Regions from separate parts of the Homo sapiens genome. Here region 1 is linked to region 2. The links are contacts of gene promoters, found by promoter capture Hi-C in blood cells and fetal thymus (Javierre and others, 2016). All regions are on one chromosome and are shown on one strand. Each heading gives the region's core, a stretch centred on a gene start or on the middle of the fragment in contact. The rest is flanking DNA. Distances are from core to core; before and after follow the strand shown.

Region 1 (7,368 bases), core at 4,869-7,368, 3.6 Mb after region 2:
TGTAAGACCAAGTGAAAGTAAAAGGCCCATGGCGGTAAATTTGTCCCTTGCAGGCAGTTTGTTCTAAATGCTTGTGCCTAGAAATAAACTTAGCCTTATTATCATCTGGACTCTGAGCAATTTTTGCATCTCAGTATTCTTAGATGTGGATGATTAAAAGGCCACGTATGAAGGCAGCTAACATAAGACACTTTGTGGGAGTGAGATAATTCATTAAAATCAAATATTAGTGTATTAGGCAAACAAATTCAATCATTTCAGTTATGTAAAGCTAGCTGGGTTCTCAGTTTTAGCAAGTTAGGGAAGATATCACATTACAGGAGAAAGACAATCTAAAAGTTTTTGAAGTTTTAATGGATTTAACCACTTGTAAAATGTTATAAATTGTAGGACACTTCTCCCAGAGAGATCCTCTAGCATACATGGATGATTTACTTTTCATATTTATGATTTGGCAGGAAAGTTTGAGTTCATTTGAAGTTAGGCTTTTTAATAGTTTTTCTCCTCCCAGTGAATTTTTCTGAGTTGATAGGTGTAAAATTTATAGATTTTATTGATAATAAAAGTTTGTAAGCATCTTTAATGTAGCGATTCCATTGCTTATTTTTTATTCAGCACTCAGGTCACTTCCTATGTGCTGGAGATAATTAAAGACTCCACTTCCAAGAAAGGATACAACAAGGAAAATAAGAGGTTGTTAAATAAAAATTATGCCAAAGATAAGCCTGTAGAAAGCTTCTGTGGTGCGTATTTGGTAGATTTTATGGATGGATTTCGTGAAGGATAAATAGCAGAGTCCTGAGGGGGGAAAAAAGGATAGAAGTGGCCAAATACAAGAGAGGAAATGGGAGAAAGAATAGGATATGAAGAAGCCTGGCATTGAGAGGTGGTATTGGCCTGTTAAGAAAACTTGTTTGCCTAGCCCCTAAGTTCTAGTCTCACTCAGTATTGGGTTTAGGGCTCCTCTAGATTCTAGTACATCATGATAGATCATGCAGTCAGTAAAAGTCCTGCTGATTTTCCCCAGTAAAGTGCTTTAGTCCACACAAAGCCTGATCTTTAATCCATGCCTAGAATTGGCAAATGATGCCAGGAAAGAAAACAGTTGGTAGTCTCAGCTATGTAGAAAAGACAAAGACTTTTAGTACATCTAGTCTTAAGCGCTTCCACAGCTCTTTCGTATCTGTAATGTATTTTGCATTTGATCCATTTTTTCCTAGTTACTGCACCTGGGAGCGACTGCCAGTACTACCACATCATTTCGGTAGTGGAGGTCCCCATTGAAGGTTTTTTTCATAGCACATAGCATGATCACGTCTAGGAAGATCGTTCTGGCTGTAGATAGTATAATTATCTACTAATACAAAGGGGGAAAGGACGTGAGATGATGTGAAAGGAAGTTTTGCATCATTTACTTGAAAGATACTGTTCTTCTGAATTTAATCACATTGGGGATTGGAAAAAGTAGATGAATAAAAATTAAAAAGAAAAAAACAAATGAGTTCATGAAGTTAAGCAATTAAAGAAAAAGACAAATCTAATACAGTACTGTAATTATTTCAAAGGTTACTATTTTACCCTAAACTCATTTCTATACTTGAAAGTTCAAGGATCGATTGATATTTTTGAAATTCTGAACTAAATGGAAATATTAAGATGGCTCATGTGTGCATATATAAATGTTATTTGTATCCTCAGAATAAACTAATAAATTTCAAGGGTACAAAATAGGATTACTATTTGTGAACTGTATTGTATCCCAGAACTCTGTACTTTTGTCTGTTCAAAATGAAAACAGTAGTTATTATATTATTTTAACCCTTATAAAAGGGAATATGATGTAAAAAATTTTAGCAATTCAGTACAGAGTACAAGTCACATAAAAGTCTACCACCGAAATGCAAGCACTATTTGTATTTTGTTTGATATTCATATATTTAGTTTTATCACTTTTTTTAACCAGTAAGTCATGGACAACTTACTATATAAGTGAAAAATGTATATATGATCATTGTATGATCATTTTTATATTATACTATAATCAATTCTCCATTGATATTTAGCTTGTGATTTTTTTTTTTTACTATTTTTTACTGTGATAAAAAATGCTGTGGTAAACACCTTTGTGTCACATACATTGTCATTCTGTCCAGTTTTCTCTATAGAAACCAATTTTTAGAATTTCTTGGTTAAAGTATATACATTTCACGTGCTTTTTTACTAGTTTTTATATTAGACAACTTCTGATTAAACATTTAGTTTAAATGATTAAAAGTATGGCATTACAATAAGAATTTATGGCTTATTTGATTTTAAAAGTAGGTCTTAAAACAGGCAATATACTGTGACAAGCAAAATATTTCCATGTCATTATTTCGTAAGTATCCTTAAGAGGAACAGTATCTCTCTCAGGACTTGGACCAAGGAATGAGATCAAAGGGGAATAATGATTAGCAGCTTAATTCAGCTGATCTCAAATGCTTAGGGGAAAAGTTTTTTTAAAAAGTTCAAACATATGCCCTATTTAACATGTGATAACACATATTCTATATTAAATATCCTGAATTGATTATAGTGCATGCCACACAATCACTTGTTCTGTTGCTAACAATCAGATATTGATTAAAAATGATTAAAAAAAACAAGAATTAAAGGAAAAATTAAATTGCAATAATTACTATTTTACTCCAAACTCATATTTCAGACCAAATATGCTGTTCTGGCAGCTCGCATTTGTCTTCAGGAAAACTACCAGTAGGAAGAACACCCAAGACATTTCTAAACCTTTGTGCTTTGTCTCCTTTAGAAATGATAGAGTTGGAGGGAACTGATGCCCAGAGATACGTAGTGATCTACTCAGTTGGGTAGTAGATAGTATGATTCATGGGTCTTAATGCAGTATATTTTCTACAACACAGTGCTTCAAGGCAAAAGTTAAAGTGTTATACTTTGGTAGTGTAGCGTGGTAGTAAAGTTAACTCCCTTTTACAAAAGTCTTAATTGTGTATATTTATACTTCATAAATAGCACACCTTATTGCCTCTTTAAGCAGAAGGAATGGAACATATTTAAAAGTTACCTTGATGACAGAGTCATTGCTATACTTGCAACTTATTTTATTGTGGGGGATCAGTGAAATACCCTCTAGTAATACTGAGATGTATAGAAAATGCCCCTAAACTAAATGCCCCCACTGTTTTAAGTTAAACTGTATTGTTGGCCTGGGAGCAAGGGTAATGGGTAGTTTTTCCTTGTAGTTAAGCTTTGAGCTGTCATTTCTTATTTTAGTTATTGTACTTGCCTATGAAGGCTCTTCTAATTTTTAATTCTTAACTCGTTTTGGTGAAGTAGATGAACAACCAAGTTTATTGAAGCTTTAATCATAGTTGAACATGTAATTGAGTCACTGGGATCTGCATAAAAGTTTGCAGATTCTGATATACAGTCTTTATAGGAGTTAGAATATGAAGATTGTAGTAGCTATTTTCATCACCCATCAGACTTATATGTTTATTCAGTAGAGCTGAAATTATTAAATGTATGAATATTACTGGCTTTTTCCTGACCATTCACACTTCATGGTGATTTCACAAGAGAAGGTATATGATTCTGGTTTCCTTGCAGACTTGTTTTTTATAATCACGTTTATTGAGGCTTAATTTTCATACAATAAATTTTATATATATTTTAAGTTTACAATTTGCCACTCAGATCAAGATACGGAAAATTCTCATCTATTGGAGAAAGTTTCCTCATACTTCTTTGCAGCCATCCTCCCCAACCTGCCACTTGGCCCAGGCAATCACTAATCTAATTTTTAACACTACAGATTAGTTTGCCACTTCATCTAAATAGAAACATATTTTATGTAGTTGTTTGTCTGGCTTTTTTCCTTCAACAATGTCTGCCAATAATATTGCATTTATTGAAAGTTACTTCATTTTTATTGCTGAGTAGTAAGTAGTCTATTGTGTAATGGATACCACAGTTTATACATTCGTCTGTGGATGGACATTTGGGGTTTTTACGCTTTTAAGTTGCAATGAACATGCATACAAGTATTGCTGTGATCATTGTTTTTCCTTCTCTTGAATAAATAACTAGAAGTGGAATTCTGGAGTCCTAAAGTAAAAGTGTATGTTTAACTTTATAGGAAACTGCCAAACTGTTTTCAAAAGTGATTTTACCATTTTACATTCCCACACTCACAATGTCTGAGAATTCATGTTCCTTGCTATAATTTAGGGAATTTTCTTTTACTTTCTGCCACACAGGAGTTTTTTACTTCATTAGATTAACACTTTGCTAATATAATTATTAACTTTTAAAGAGCAAAAAAAAAAGGCTTTGCAGATGAAAAGACCAAAGCCTATAATCAAAACATGACATGAAAAGAGTTTAGAACACCCTGGCTTCATAAGTTATCAGAAAGGTGAATTTTATCCTCAGACTTTTAGCAACACCTTTAATGGCTAGCCACTTGAGACCTTCTATAATACTTCTTTCAGAGTTCCTGCTGCTGCTTGAATTGTAAAAGCTGCAATAGAAATATGTTTCTTTACTTCTTTCCAGGCCAAACGAGAGTTGGCTTTATTTTCAATATCAAAGATAGCATCATAGATTCCAGGAAATGATTCTCCAGCATATTTGTTGTGGCTACTTGGAGCAAATATGATGTGCCTAAAAGGAAGAAAACAAGGCAAATTGAACTAAAGTGTATACATGCATTTTGCATGCTTTTTGTTTAGACCACATGATGTTTCCTTGTGATACTCACTTTTGTTCCTATAATAAGAAGACAGTTGATCTGAGATACTTATGCGAATCATAATTTCAAGCCAGGAAAGAAGCTAACAATATGCATTCGCTAAGACATATCTCAGGAATCATATACCATGTTGCGAACCCAAAGCAGATGGAAGAAAGCAGGTTCTTTTAAGTTGTGCAGAATAATTGCTCAGCGTCCCGTAAGCATCCACAAATATGGTGATAACATGTAAGTTTATGGATGTTTTTAGTAAGAGGAGATTGAGAAAGATAATTTATTTTTGTGTTGCCTTTTAAAAATAGATTAAACAAGAATGACAGTTGTTCCCAATACTTTTTAGACATTAAAAAACAAGTAATTAAAGAAGCCTGTATTTCAAAGTGTTACAAATGGCAAGGATAATGACGTCCATTCCACAAAGGTAAGACAGTTATATGTGGGTTGCCCGCAAAGACACTCAACTTTTGATCTAAAAAGAAAGTTTTATAGTTGCTTTTCTACTTCAACATAAGTAGCTCAAGGGATCAAGCTACTTTCCGCAATAATGACGTAGAATTTTGCTTTCCAGAAAGGGATGTATTTTATTAATACATCAGGAATTAGGTCCAACAGTCAAACCCCAAAGCTTATTCTAGAGTAAATCTGTATGAAGCAATATAGAGCTCCATATAAGTCAGTATTAATGATTAATGATTAATGACAAATCTATAACACTCATCATTCAGATTTACCAAAGTACATCAGGATTTATTATCTTGGCTTTTAAATCTTAATATGGCCTCAGATGGATTTTTTTAAAATTAAAATCAGTTTATGTGCTAAGTTGTTTATAAGCATTGGTATCCTGACCTGTATATGAGTCAAGAAATTAGAGATGCAAGTCATAGATATTCCTTAGTATACTTACCCTCTTCTGGAGAATTGTAAAGGAAGAATATAGCAAAAAAAATTTGATATAGGAAGCGAATAACCTTTGAATCATTGATATGGCATTTAATATCTCAGTGACCTTTGGCAAATTGCCTAAGTTGTCTAAATTTGTCCCAGATTTGTAAAATAATTGAAATAATGTAGACTCTGCTTAGAGTAGTGACTGAGCAGGTTGTAGACTGAGACTGCCTGTTTTTTAAAAATCAGAATACTAGCATATTTACTATCAACAGAATACTATCAACTATCAGCCTTGTGGCCTTGCACTGGTTATTTAACCTCCCTGTGCCTGTTATCTTAAAAATGATGGTGATAAAAGTACTGTTCTAAAAGAATTGTGAGAATCAAATGTTGGATGAAAAGCATAGCTTGACATTTAATAGGTGTTCAGTAAATATTAGCTATTCTGAAACTAAATCCTTTCCCTAATTTTCTCAGATAAGAAGCAGGCAGCAAGCTAAAAGAAATGATCAGACAATTGGTAATGCTTAAGCAACTCAAATACCCTTTTATGAAATGGTGGACTCAAATAGCTATTCTAGTCCCATAAGAATTCAAACTCTGGTCTAGTTCTCAAGGTTTCAAGTATATGATGATTTAATTACCCTCCACAATGGACATTTCTGAATTTTTAAGAGGCATCAAGAACTACTGAGCAGACTAGAGAATATGGTCAACACTTCATAGTCTTTTTTCCTCAACCTTCCCCTCAGTACATAGTAAGTATTCACTGATGAGTTGTGATAATGCAAAATTTCTTTTTTTTTTTTGAGATAGAGTCTCGTTCTGTCGGCCCAGGCTGGAGTGCAGTGGCATGATCTCGGCTCACTGCAACCTCCACCTCCTGGGCTCAAGCAATTCTCCTGCCTCAGCCTCCCGAGTAGCTGGAATTACAGGTGCCTACCACCACGCCTGGCTAATTTTTGTATTTTTAGTAGAGATGGGGTTTCACCATGTTGGCCAGGCTGGTCTTAAACTCCTGACCTCAGGTAATCCACCCGCCTTAACCTCCCAAAGTGCTGGGATTACAGGCGTGAGCCACCATGCCCGGCCACAAATGTTTCTAGAATTTCATAATTAAATGCTTTGCAGCTTTTAAAGACTTTTACAGTATTTCACTTGATGTTTGCAAAAAAGGAAGCTTTATTTAATCCTTTTTAGATTCCATTACAGAGTGTGTTCATTTTATATTGCTGCTGTGCAAATTACCACCAACTTAGTGGCTTAAAAAAATTTATTATCTTACAGTTGGTCTGACATAAGTCTCACCAAGCTAAAATCAAGGTATGATCAGGGTCACATTCCTTCCTGGAGGCACTAGAGGAGAATCCTTTTCCTTGCTTTTCTAGCTTCTAGAGGCCTACCACATTCCTCCACCATCAAAATCCGCAACTGCATTTTAGATGAGTCTTTTCGCAATGGCATCACCCTAACTTTCTCTCCTGCCTGCCTCTTACAGGAAGACTTTTAAGGACCCTTGTGACTGCATCATTGGGACCACCAGTATAATTCAGAATACTGTCCCTATTTTAACTCAGCTGATTAGTGTGACTCATCCATCTGCCACCTTAATTCCTCTTTGTCATGTAACCTAACATATTCAAAGGTTCTGGGGTTAGAAAATAGAGATCTTTGGGAGGCCATTATTATGCTTACCACACAGAGCAATT
Region 2 (6,423 bases), core at 3,414-5,913:
AACTTTTCTAATCCATCCCTTAAAAAAAAAGGGAAGGAAGGATTAGATGGAAAAACAGGGACTTAAGAGAAAATAACTTGCTTAATTTAAGGTCACACAGTTAATGAAGGCAGAGGCAGGATTCGAATCCAGGTCTACCTGATTCCAAAGCCATTATATCATCACATTTTTGTGTAATATATCACAGACCAAGGACCCAGGCTATAAGAATTTGTTAAGATTTGGTAACCTTTAAAGTATTACATTCTTTTTTTTTTTTTTTTTGGGATGGAATCTCGCTCTGTCGCCCAGGCTGGAGTGCAGTGGCGCGATCTCAGCTCACTGCAACCCCCGCCTCCCAGGCTCAAGCAATTCTCCTGCCTCAGCCTTCTGAGTAGCTGGGACTACAGGTGCCCACCACCACGCCTGGCTTATTTTTGTTATTTTTAATAGAGACAAGGTTTCACAGCATTAGCCAGGATGGTCTCGATCTCCTGACCTCGTGATCTGCCCGCCTTGGCCTCCCAAAGTGCTGGGATTACAGGCGTGAGCCACCACGCCTGGCCTTAAAGGTATTACATTCTTAATGAAACTTAACTCTTCCAAGGATCATAGGTATATAATAAAAAAATAAAGGAAATGCAGTTGTATGGCTTTGTTTTAGACCAGTTAGTCTTTAAATCTTCATCTGGACTTAATTTTGCAAGAAAGGAAAATGGAACAACAGGCACAAAGCCAAAAAAGGGTCCTGGGATTTAATAAATAAAATTTTATTATTCAATTAAAGTCCACAAATACCTGTTTTGGAGGAAGTGCATCCTGAGAGACAGGATCAAGAGTCATAAATTTTTTATCCCTAACAATACTGAGAACATCATAGAGAACACACATCTCTGTCAGGGCACTTCTCAAATTGTTCCTCACTGAGTCCCAAGGCCAAAGGGAAGGCTGAAATTTTACCACTCCTAAAAAGAGAGAGAGAAAAAAAAGAAATACAGAAGTATTCGTTACATTGAATGGCAGACAGCTCACTTAGGTTTAAAAAGTACTAAAAGGAGAAATAATTAATTAAATTTCAAATTGTTCTCTTATTTATGCCATCTCCTCTACCGTTTCTTAAAACTTTGTTAACATTCACATTAGCATTCCTACAATCGCAAAATGAATATGACATCTATTTCCACAGGTTAAATTTATCATTACAACATTATAGACTCAAATCTCTTTTCAAATTTATGTAAACCTTTTTAATAATCTTCTTACAGTGTTTAGAACTTGAATTTACAATTGTACAAAATTTCCAAAATACAGAAAAGTACAAAATGAAAATGACCTGTAAGCCAGCCACTATTAGCATATCTTCCTTTTAACCATTAAAAAAAGTATTGTGATTAAATACATGAACATTCACTATATAGAGTTCACACAATAAAGAATTAGAGGGTAAAAAGTGAAAGTTTTCCTTCATTCCCCACCCGATTCTCTCCCCTCCTGAGAGGTAACCACTATTAACAGATGGAGCGTAGCCTTTCTTTTCTTTTTTTTTTCTTTTTGAGACAAAGTCTTGCTCTGTCACCCAGGCTGGAGTGCAGTAGCGCGATCTCAGCTCACTGCAAGCTCCACCTCCCGGATTCATGCCATTCTCCTGCCTCAGCCTCCCCAGTAGCTGGGACTACAAGCACCCACCACCACGCCCAGCTAATTTTTTGTATTTTTAGTAGAGACGGGGTTTCACCATGTTAGTCAGGATGGTCTTGATCTCCTGACCTCGTGATCTGCCTGCCCCGGCCTCCGAAAGTGCTGGGATTACAGACGTGAGCCACTGCGCCCGGCCCCAGTGAGTGTACCCTTTCAAAGGTTTTTCTATGCACTTACATACATCTATTTCCAATTTTCTATTACTTGCCTTTCCCCCGCCCCCACTTAATATTTCCTAGAGACACTTCCATGTTAGTACTTATGAGTCTACTTAATTCTTCTAACACTGTATGATATTCTGGAACATGGATGTACGGTATGTTTAACCACTTGTATTTAACGGACATGTAGATTGCTTCCAACAAGTAAACTGCTTCCAACAATGCTAGCAGTGGTAAACATCTTGAATATATACCCTGTATATGTGCAACTTTTTCTGCAGGTTAAATTTTTAGTCGTGGTAATAGTGAATCAAAGGAGATATACATTTAAAAGTTTCGGCTGGGTGCAGTGGCTCAGGCCTGTAATCCCAGCACTTTGGGAGGCCGAGGCAGGGTGGATCACCTGACATCAGGTATTTAAGACCAGCCTGGCCAACATGGTGAAACTCTATCTCTACTAAAAATACAAAAATTAGCCAGGCATGGTGCCGCACGCCTACAGTCCCACATACTAGGGAAGCTGAAGTGGGAGAATCGTTTTGAATCCAGGAGGCAGGGGTTGCAGTGAGCCGAGATTGCACCACTGCACTCCAGCCTGGCCGACAGAGCAAGACTCCATCTCAAAAAAAAAAACAAAACAAACCAAAAAAAGTTAAAATTAAATGTTGGCACATATTAAACTGCCAAATTGTCTTTCAGAATCACTACCAGTTCACATTCCTAACCCTGAATATTAACAATCTTTTCAATTTCTGTCAATTTTGTGCATGGAAAGAGTATCTTAATCATGTTTTAATTTCCCAGTCCCTAGTAATGAGATTGAGTCTATGTTCTGTTTATTGGTATCTGAAGTCTCTCCTCTATGAGCCTTCAGATACCTTTGGCCTATTTTTCCAAAGTGTCATTATTTTCTTTTCAGTCTGAAGGGACTTTTTGAATAGAGAAGATATCAACTAAATTTGTGTTATATGTGTAGAACTTCTCCCAGTCTGTCATTTATCTTTTTACTTTGCTTATGGCATCTTTTCCCATTATTTTTAAATTTTATGTAAGTAATATATCTATACTTTGTAAGGTAGGTAGGTGTGTGGTTGTGTGTGTGGATGTTAGAGTCTTGTTCTGTTACCCAGGCTGGAGTGCGGTGGCACAATCATAGCTCACTGCAGCCTTGATCTCACTGGCTGAATCCATCCTCCTCCCTCAGCCTCCCCAGTAGCTGGGACCACAGACGTGCACCACCACGCCCAGCTAATTTTTTTAATTTGTAGAGGCAGGAGCTCCCTATGTTGCTCAGGCTGGTCTTGAAGTCTGGGCTCAAGTGATCCTTCCACCTTGGCCTCCAAAAATGTTGGAACTACAGGTGTGAGCCACCATGCCTGTCCTGTTATTTCCGAAATTAAGAAGATCTATCCGACTCCCAGAATAATACAACTATTCTTTCATTATTTCTTCTAACACTTTGTTTTACTTTCTTCATTTGGCACTTCAATCCTCAAAAATTACTGTGGAAATAATTTTTGTGTGAGGTATAAAGTAGTATTTACCTTTTTTTGCAAATAGACCCCTAATAATCCTAACAGCACTGCCCTGAAATGACATCTTTAAATTCCCATTTACACTGGGTGTGCTGCATAACTAAATTAAGAATTTTGATTTTTTTTTCAAAAATCCTTGACAATAATGAGAATCTGAAACCCACTCATTATTTCTTCACTTCCCTCCTAGTCTCCTCCCTTCCAGTTTTGCTTTCCCTATAATTCATTTATTAGAAAGCATCTAGAGTAAACTTTAACAAAACCATCTCTACTTATCCTGCAAAAGCTTTCAGTGGTCTTAACACTAGTCAAACGCTTATCCCGGCCTACTGGGTTCTACATGATCTGGACCCGCCTACCTCTTGGACCTCGTCACACATTTCAGTCAAAACAGACCTCTTTTCTGCAGGTGCTACTATCATCATTCACACCGCACAAGGATGCAAAGTAACTCGCCCAAGGTCACACAGCCGGCAAGGGGCAGAGCCCCGATCTAGGGCTCTTTTAGCCACTAAGTGTGCTACATTAAAGGCCCTCTACAGAGAAGCATTCATTTAAACATTTCACGGTTTGACAGTGTCTCTAAACGCTGCCATTCAAGGAGACCCGCAGGAGTATTACGTAAAGTCGTGTCCTACCTTGTCCGGCAGCAACAAAAAGATGACGACCAAGTATCCTTACGCTTCCGCTAGAGGGACACTCAAAAGTTCTCGCACGCACAAGATCACCCCCATCGCGGGAGAGGCGGAGGCCCGCGCGGGTGCTGGGACCCAGACCGGGGGACTCGGGCAGCGGATGCAGGCCTTACCTTCCTCGTCGTCCTGGTCTGCGCTGGACCCGGCGCCCGGCCACTCCTGCGCGTCGCCCTCGGTCCCCGCCGCCTCCTCCTCCTCGGAGCCCGAACCCTGGCTGAAGTCTATCCGCTGGGCCAGACGCGCCAGATTCTGCGACATGGACAGCGGGGGCAGGTACGTCTCGGTGCCATCCAGGCCCACCTCATGGACCTGCTTCTCGCAGGCCGATTCGATGCTGATCCGCACTGCGCGCACCCCGGACATGCTGGCTGCGTCGGCCAGCGGTGGGAGGACCCCCCACGAGCCAAAAAACGAGGTACGAAGAGGAGGCTTCCCTGCGGAGAGCCGGGAACTCAGAAGCCCGCAGCCGCGGTGCCTCAGAAGACCCTCGGGAAACCGAACGCAACGCTCAGACTGGAAACAAAGGAGCTGGCCCAGCAACTTTCCCAGAACGCACCGCAAGCTCCCTCCTCGGTAAGTCTTTCGGAGCAAAACTGGGCAGGCGCGGAAGCTCCAGGGTTCCCTAGAGCGCTTCCGGTGAATCACGGTGCAGGGTGGGGTAAACTTCCGGGCCTATAAGAGGCGTGGCCGGCAGAGGGAGGGAAAGAGCGGTTTGGGAGCCGAGAGTGTGGCGGGTATATTCCTTGCTTTTTAAGCCTGCGTTTGTTTAAAAAGTGGATGAGGAAAGAAAGCTGCAGAGGCTAGAAGAGTTAAGGAAAAGGAAATTAATGGATCCTTGGATCTTAGCAATGAGAGTCCTGTTGAGAGAACTGAGATCTGGTGGCGCGCGCCTGTGGTCCAGCTACGCGGGTGGCTGAGGCGGGAGAATGGCTTGAGCCCTGGAGATGGAGGCTGCAGTGAGCCGAGATCTCACCGCTGCATTCCAGCCTAAGCAACAGAGTGGGATCCTGCCTCAAAACAAAAGTTATTTTAAATTAGCAAGAAATTTTTTAAAGAAACACTATCTGAAGAGTTAGAAATTAAGGGCATGGCTTGGGGGAAACAATCGTGCTTATCACCACTTAAAATTATACTACGTAATTATTTGGTTTCCTGTTAGTTATAACTCTATGACAGCCAATATCTGCAGCAGACATAATAGACTCTGGCATGTAGTAAGTGCTTAATATTTATTTTATGCCCGAGTAACAGAATAAATAATGTTGATCTCGCTTTTTTATTAGTGATGGGGTCCCACTATGTTGCCCAGGCTGAGTGCAGAGGTTATTCACAAGTGCTGTCAGCACGCTACAGCCTGGAGCTCCTGGGCTCCAACGATGCTCCTGCCTTAGCCTCCTGAGGAGCTGGGACTATAGGAGCGTGTCACCATGCCTGGCCTGCAAATAATATTTAAAAGATTAAGAAGAAGTGGTATAACTTCAGTCTTTGGGTCTCCAAGAACGTATTTCATTAGTAGGAATTCCACAGACAAAGATGGATTATTTTATATTACAAACCTCTATATTTCGTTTAAGGAATTATATATACCGTTTATCATGAGTGTTTGCCAGGTTTTGTTCTGACCAAGATATATCTAGGTTTTGAACTACTTTCCTAAGGTATTTAGGAAAATACGGTTGCCCTGGTGTCAGTCCCTGCTGAAGAAGAAAGTAGATGGCCGTGTGTGGAGGGGGTTGAATTTTCATGAGAGAAACCTATTTCTGGCAAGCTGTACAGTCTGTCGCCCAATCATGTTCGAGAACCACTGTACTTGCTTTTCGTGTAAATTTGTTTAAAAATTTTTTTTAACTTTATTTTAAAATCTGATTAATAGCCAGGCGCAGTGGCAGTCTAATAGTGCAGACAAAAACAAGACAACAACAAATGATTATGATTCCTAGAATAAGCAAAGCTTTTGCCACCAAGTCTTCAAGATCAAAACTAGCTGCTTAGCCAGTTGTTTAAAGATGTGTTGGATCTGAAAGGTTAGTTGTTAAGGTTTTCATATTATCCATTAACGTAGTGATATTATCTGATTCATCTGGGATACAGACATAACACACAGTTTTTATGATAATGCAAGTTCCTCCCTGGGCTTCGGTGAGTATGTCAAAAGCCATACGGTTTTGTAATAATGGCCTTTTCCATAAGAATAACTATTGTTTAATAATGGAATACTTATGTAGCTATCTTTTGGGTATAATTGGTTAGGACCTCTATATGCCAAATAACATCTTCAACACTCAGTTGTGGTATGAAGATGGAAGCTAAGTGATCATACCAATGAAACACAGGATGAACCCAATGAGATCATAA

What was found. Contacts are between HindIII fragments. The CHiCAGO score rates a contact against its expected background, and 5 or more counts as called.
Region 1: a fragment that was not itself captured here is called in contact with the fragment with the promoter of MED17 in region 2 in 1 of 17 cell types (total CD4 T cells); the score reaches 6.3 in total CD4 T cells.

Annotation. Positions count from the first base shown.
Region 1 is chr11:90,188,870-90,196,237 of GRCh38, reverse strand. It overlaps NAALAD2 (N-acetylated alpha-linked acidic dipeptidase 2), which reads right to left. Exons shown (of 19, transcript NM_005467.4): 19 at 3,344-4,680. The coding sequence ends at 4,491. Among named protein-coding and RNA genes, the nearest start is that of CHORDC1, 30 kb to the left of the region's middle. The HindIII fragment of the contact is 1,446 bases long and covers 5,396-6,841 here.
Region 2 is chr11:93,782,522-93,788,944 of GRCh38, reverse strand. MED17 (mediator complex subunit 17) reads right to left here and starts at 4,663. Exons shown (of 12, transcript NM_004268.5): 1 at 4,182-4,663; 2 at 778-944. The coding sequence starts at 4,431. RefSeq lists enhancers at 1,879-2,378, 4,387-4,606, 4,548-4,842 and silencers at 3,931-4,125, 4,127-4,256. The HindIII fragment of the contact is 2,360 bases long and covers 3,662-6,021 here.